2 separate regions of the Homo sapiens genome follow, and region 1 is linked to region 2. The links are contacts of gene promoters, found by promoter capture Hi-C in human tissues and cell types (Jung and others, 2019). All regions are on one chromosome and are shown on one strand. Each heading gives the region's core, a stretch centred on a gene start or on the middle of the fragment in contact. The rest is flanking DNA. Distances are from core to core; before and after follow the strand shown.

What was found. Contacts are between HindIII fragments. The study calls those that stand out against the background at their distance.
Region 1: a fragment that was not itself captured here is called in contact with the fragment with the promoter of BCL2A1 in region 2 in 4 of the 25 tissues and cell types used here (dorsolateral prefrontal cortex, liver, lymphoblastoid cells and 1 more).

The regions. Positions count from the first base shown.
Region 1 is chr15:80,037,713-80,041,181 of GRCh38, reverse strand. No RefSeq gene overlaps it. Among named protein-coding and RNA genes, the nearest start is that of ZFAND6, 20 kb to the left of the region's middle. RefSeq lists an enhancer at 974-1,473. The HindIII fragment of the contact is 5,767 bases long and covers 1-3,469 here.
Region 2 is chr15:79,969,012-79,972,788 of GRCh38, reverse strand. BCL2A1 (BCL2 related protein A1) reads left to right here and starts at 1,593. Exons shown (of 2, transcript NM_004049.4): 1 at 1,593-2,089. The coding sequence starts at 1,670. RefSeq lists an enhancer at 970-2,169. The HindIII fragment of the contact is 21,858 bases long and covers 1-3,777 here.

The DNA.
Region 1 (3,469 bases), core at 909-3,408, 68 kb before region 2:
TAGTTTTTTTGTATTTTTAGTAGAGATGGAGTTTCGCCATGTTGCCCAGACTGGTCTCAAACTCCTGGGCTCAGGTGATCGAGGCACCTAAGCCTCCCAAAGTGCTGGGATTACAGGTGTGAGCCACTGCGCCTGGCCTCTTCCTTATAGTTTGAATTTTTTTTAATGTGAATGTATCTACATACTACTTGTGTAATTTAAAAAATAAGTTAAAATCAGAAATAACAAAGAAGTGCCAAAGTGAGGTTTAACAACTATAGCCATTCAGTAAAATACTTCAGTTTATAAAAAGTCTAGAAGTTATCTTTGAAAGTTAAGTGAATAAAGCAGGAGAGAACATTCTATGAATATGCCAATAATATTTTAAGTGAAAAGGCAAGTCACAGAACAGTACTATGTTAAGATCCTATCTGTGTTAAAAATGTAGACACATGTATACCTACAAATGAAATAAATGCCTGTAAAGATAGATACCAAATTGAAAATAGGGGTTATTATCTCTGAGGGATGGTTTTGAGGCTAAGAGAAAGCTTATTTATGAGTGTTTGAATTTTTTCTAATGAAAATATATTAATTTTATAATAAAAATAAATTATAAACAGATACATAAAGTATGTGTTTATATAAACACATGTATTGTGTATATATATGTGTATTTTAAAATATCTATAACTATCTCCTATTTGTAAATATATATACATATTTAAATATATACACACATACACGTATAAATGTAAACACATATATGCCTAGGAAAATAGATGTTTATATTTATATATACACGTGTATATATTTATATATGTATATATATATTTACATATGTGGCATTATAGGTGATGATTACTATTGGCTTTTTTATTCATGTGTTTTTCATATTTTCACCAATTTTATAATCTAGTAAGAATTTTTTTAAAAACGAAAAGGTTATAAAAAAAGGAAAAACCTAATAAAATTGTATAGTATAATCACTAGTGAGTGAAAGTAAGCATAAATTTTGTACATGGAAAAAAAATCTAGGAAAAACTAGAATTAGTGGAAATTTAGATGTTAAAACTTTTTTTTTTCCTCTTTTTATTCCCCCCAAGTCTATGATAATGAATGAATATTAGTTCCGGTGCTAGAAGAAAGTATAATGTAAAAATGTAAATATTTATTAGGTGCACCCAAAGATCATCATTTTAGAGATGGAGAAACTTAGGGGCAAGCAGGGGCATTGGCTGCTAAAGGGGGTGCAGGCTGAGGCAGGTCTCACCTCTGGGTTCTAGAGCTCCTTCCAGCCCCCTTCAAGCTGCCATCACATTTCTGTTCTCGAGTTTGGAGAAAAGGGACACACACCGGTTGGTGCCCGTGCTGGCAGTCTGCTCACATCACACCTAACTGAGGGGTCTCCCCAGGGCCTTGAGCTCCTGGCTGGCTAATTCTACTTAGTGCTAGGGTAACTGAGGTCAGACATCCATGAGGTGGCAAAGTGGGGTGATCAGTTTGTCCCAGTTTGCCTCAGATTTCCCCAGTTTTAGCACCTAAAATCCTGCATTCCAGGAAATCTCTTGGGCCTATAAAAACCAGAACAGGACCAGGCACGGTGGCTCACCCCTGCAATCCCAGTACTTTGGGAGGTCAAGGTGGGTGGATCACCTGAGGTCGGGAGGTGGGGAGTTCGAGACTGGCCTGGCCAACATGGTGAAACCCCGTCTCTATTAAAAATACAAAAATTAGCCGGGCGTGGTAGTAAATGCCTGTCGTCCCAGCTACTCGGGAAGCTGAGGCAGGAGAATCTCTTGAACCCAGGAGGCGGAGGTTTCAGTGAGCCAAGATCGTGCCACTGCACTACAGCCTGGGTGACAAAGCAAGACTCCATCTCAAACAACAACAACAACAACAACAGCAACACAGAACAGTTGGTCACCCTAGAGTGAATTGTGATTCCCAAGAACACCAAACTGGGAACCAGGAGATCACCATTCTCACCCGAACTCCCTGTGTGGTATTACCTCACCTCTCTGGGCCTCAGTTTGCTTATCAGTGAAACAGTATCATCTCCCCGGACTCTACCTTAAAGGGTCGTTTCAAATAAAAAAAAAATGTGAAATTACATTGTAAACTAAGGACTGTGTCCATAGGGGAGGGTCAGGGTGGACTTTGCCCTTGGGGGAGTCAGCTAGAGCCATGGAGGCATGACCACAGCGTTCTGATCACAGCTTACTCTCCATTCTCCTTGACATCCAAAGTCACGCCCACCTAAAATCCTCTCATGAGGTTAATCCAACAAGTCTTCAGCTCTGGTGAGGTGGGACTCCGAGGGTTCTACAAACTTTTTCTGTAAAAGCCTTTGATGGTTAATTTTTTTTTTTTTTTTTTTTGAGACAGAGTCTTGCTCTGTCGCGGCTGGAGTGCAGTGATGCAATCTCAGCTCACCGCAACCTCCACCTTCTGGATTCAAGTGATTCTTCTGCCTCAGCCTCCCAAGTAGCTGGGATTACAGGCGCGCACCATCACGCCCAGCTAATTTTTGTATTTTTAGTAGAGACAGGGTTTCACCATATTGGCCAGGCTGGTCTTGAACTCCTGACCTCGCAGTCCATCCACCTTGGCCTCCCAAAGTGCTGGGATTACAGGTGTGAGCCACGGCGCCTGGCTTTGATGGTTAATTTTATGTGTCAATTTGGCTGGACCACAGTACCCAGATATTTGGTCAGACATTATTCTGGATGTTTCTGTGAGAGTACATTTGGATGAGATTAACATTGAAATCAGTGGATTTTGAGTAAAGTTGGTTGCCCTCCACAATGTTGGTAGGCCTCATCCAATCAGTCAAAGGACTGAATGGTACAAAGACTGACCTCCCCTGAGGAAGAAGGCATCCTGCAGCAGACAGCCTTCAGACTCAAACTGCAACCTTGGCTCTTCCCAGGTCTTCAGCCTGCCAGTCCACCCTGCAGACTTTGGACTTGCCAGCCTCCATAATCACATGAGCCAGTTCCTTAAATCTCTCTCTCTTTTTTTCTTCCTTTCTCTCTATCCTATTGGTTCTGTTTCTATGGAAAACCCTGACTAGTACAAAATCCAAATAGAACATGTTTTAGGCTCTGCAGGTCATGTGATCTCTGTCACATCTACTCGACTCTCCCATTTTAGCTCAGAAGCAGCCATAAACAATACACAAGGTATTGTCCACCTTGGCCTGCTGACATTTGAGGCTGGATCATTGTTTGTTATGAAGGCTGTCCTGTGAACTGTAGGATATTTAGCAGCATCCTAGTCTCTACCCAGTTGATACCAGTAGCACTCCTCAGTTGTCACAACCCAAAATGTAACTGGGGGGAGGGAGGTCTGATATAAATAAATGAGCATGACTGTATTCTATTGAAACGTGATTTACAAAATAGGTGCTATTTTGTAGATACATTATTGTAAAACATTATTTACAAAATGGTTGGTTTGGCCCATGGGCCATAGTTTGCTCTAGGCA
Region 2 (3,777 bases), core at 344-2,843:
GGAGTCTCGCTCTGTCGCCCAGGCTGGAGTGCAGTGGCACAATCTCAGCTCACTGCAAGCTCCGCCTCCTGGGTTCAAAGGATTCTCCTGCCTCAGCCTCCCAAGTAGCTGGGACTACAGGTGCCCGCCACCATGCCTGGCTAATTTTTTGTATTTTTGGTAGAGATGGGGTTTCACTGTGTTAGCCAGGATGGTCTCGATCTTCTGATCTCGTGATCCGCTCGCCTCAGCCTCCCAAAGTGCTGGGATTACAGGGGTGAGCCACCGTGCCTGGCCCAAAGAGGGTATTTTTTTCTTCCCTCTCGGTATCATCCTTACTCAATTACAAATGATCAAGGGCGGTACTGCCAGAGTCACCTCGAGAGGCCCTGTTCTCTGCCACCCAGGCTGTTTTGTAGTCTCCATTCCAAATTGTCGTTACTCCGGTTTACCCCGTGGATGGCGTTTAAGACTTTTCTTAAATTTGAAATTCACAGAACCATTTTAAAGTGAACAATTCAGTGGCATTTAGTACCTTCGCAGTGTTGTGCAACTTCCACCTCTATCTAGCTGCAAAACATTTTCTTTTCTTTTTTTTTTTGGAGACAGAGTCTCGCTCTGTTGCCCAGACTGGAGTGCAGTGGCGTGATCTTGGCTCACTGCAACTTCTGTCTCCCGGGTTCAAGCAATTCTCCTGCCTCAGCCTCCCGAGTAGCTGGGATTACAGGCACACGCCACCCGCCTGGCTAATTTTTTGTATTTTAGTACAGACGGGGATTTACCATATTGCCCAGGCTGGTCTCAAACTCCTGAGCTCAGGCAATCCGCCCGCCTTGTCCTCCCAAAGTGCTAGGATTACAGGCGTGAGCCAACGCGGCCGGCCTTGTAAAACATTTTCATCACACAAAAGAAAACCTTCTACCCATTAAGCAGTTACTCCTTCCTCTTCTCAGCCCCTGTCAACCACCAATTTGCTTTCTATCCTATGGATTTAACTGTCTGGATATTTCATAGAAATAGAATCACATAATGTATGACCTTTTCTGTTTGGCTTCTTTCTATTAGCCTAATGTTTTTGAGGTTCATTCCTGTTGAAGCATGTATCAGTTCTTCATTCCTTTTTTGGGATGAATAATGTTCCATAATTTATTTATCCTTTCGTCTGTTGATGAACATTTGAGTTGTGTCCACATCTTGGCTATTGTGAATAGTGCTGCCATGTACATTCGTATGTAAGTATTTGAGTATCTGTTGGGTGTATACCTATGAATGGAATTGCTGGGTCTTTTGACAATTCTGTATTTAACTTTTTGAGAAACTGCCAACATTTTCACAGGGGTTGTACCATTTCACATTCCCACCAGCAATCTACAAGGATTCTAATTTCTCCACATCCTGCATTTAAGACTTGCAAAGCTGAATTAATCACAGGATGAGGAAGTGGCTTCTCTGAAACATTTTCCTCTTTCACATTTTAAACTTTCTCTTTCATACATGACATGAAACACAGCCTACGCACGAAAGTGACTAGGAGGAAGGATATTATAAAGTGATGCAAACAGAAATTCCACCAGCCTCCATGTATCATCATGTGTCATAACTCAGTCAAGCTCAGTGAGCATTCTCAGCACATTGCCTCAACAGCTTCAAGGTGAGCCAGCTCAAGACTTTGCTCTCCACCAGGCAGAAGATGACAGACTGTGAATTTGGATATATTTACAGGCTGGCTCAGGACTATCTGCAGTGCGTCCTACAGATACCACAACCTGGATCAGGTCCAAGCAAAACGTCCAGAGTGCTACAAAATGTTGCGTTCTCAGTCCAAAAAGAAGTGGAAAAGAATCTGAAGTCATGCTTGGACAATGTTAATGTTGTGTCCGTAGACACTGCCAGAACACTATTCAACCAAGTGATGGAAAAGGAGTTTGAAGACGGCATCATTAACTGGGGAAGAATTGTAACCATATTTGCATTTGAAGGTATTCTCATCAAGAAACTTCTACGACAGCAAATTGCCCCGGATGTGGATACCTATAAGGAGATTTCATATTTTGTTGCGGAGTTCATAATGAATAACACAGGAGAATGGATAAGGCAAAACGGAGGCTGGGTATGTGTGATGGAAAAATTCTTCATTGTTCTTTCCTGTGAAATAGAAATTGAGAATTTCCTTGCTAGTTAAAACAACAACAAAACACTTTACCTAAGAATACTATTTTCCTTGGGTGGTTTGTTTTAATTTTTAAAATAAAAATATACTTTCTGGCTTATTTCCAATGAATCCTTGAACTTGAACTTTATAGTTGGAAAGCACTTATGTTTTCAGTTTTTATTCTTAACAGTATAAATTACAGTAGTGAGCTTTGGGGATTAATAAAGCACCTCTCTCATGCAGCTTCACAATCAGCTGTGCACACACTCTAATCTAGTACTTAGCTTTTGCTAGGGTTGTCATGACAGTACAGACAGTACAGAAATTTCTACAATCAGCACAGAAAGTTGCTATCAGATGCTGTTATTTTTAGGTATTTATGGGTTGCAAAAGACAGGTGTAAATTTTTGTAAGTTCATCGCTTACAAATTGGTGTTTTTCAGTTTACTAATACATAATAAATAGTAACATATATTAATATATAGCAAATTACATTACATATAATATATAACACATTATTACTAATAATAAATTCCGGGCTGTTAAAGTTTGTTGATTAAAACATAATATACTGTATGACCAGCAAGAACCTTTATTCAAGAATTTTCAAATAAAAATTTACTTTATTATCAGTGCCTAAAAAAGCCAAGACTATGTAGAGGCCTGTGTTGAAACTCATGTTGGTAAAAAGCCTGACACAGCTGGATGTATATGGTTTCCTTTATATTCCAATATACTTAATAATTATTTTTTTAAAGCACTTAAGTGTTCATTGATCCTCTCTCCAACGGCCTTCACCTCTCCCAAGAGGTAACCACTGTTATCAATTATTTTGCATGCAAAACATGCCTACTGAATCTATCCATAGAAAATAAACAATACTTCTTTGTAAAACATTTTTTGTAAAAAAAGTTTTATATAAAATGTATATGTATGCTTATGTATATGTTTTACATAACATATATGTTATACCATATAACACATACCTTTTTTACATATACACATAGATTTTTTATGTATACATATAAATTTTGCATACATATTTTTACATGTGTATATGTAAAAATAGTACATGGTACTAATGCTGCCACTTATTTTTTTACCCAGAATTATTTAAAATAGTATTATTAAGAGTGCTGTGTATATTCTGTTATATGTAAGTGCTGTAGAGTACCTGGCCATTTCTAGCTGATAGCTGTTTAGGTTATTTCGAGTTTGCTGTCACACACAATGCTTCATTGAATATCATTTTACGTAAATCTTCCCTTGTGCGTGTGTGTAGTTTTCTAGGGTGGATGTTGGGTTGTAGATGCTGGGTCATGGTGTACATACATTTTTTAATTTGTTAGGTCCTTGCCCTCCAAAGTGGCTCTACCAAGTTACACTCCCATCAGCAGCTCGTTAGGATATGCCCCGGGATTCTCCTACCCCAGCTGACTAACAGTAGGTTGCTGCAATTCATCATAATTTTCTTAATTTGTTGGGCTAAAAATATAGAGTTTATCTTGTTTCAATTCTTGTTTTCTTGATTTCTAGTAAGGTTAATTTTTTTTTTACATTTTGAGCATCTTTTCATATATTAACTGATCATTTGTAAATGCAGGGAATTGTCTGTTTACACCCTTTGCCCATTTTCCTTTTATTTT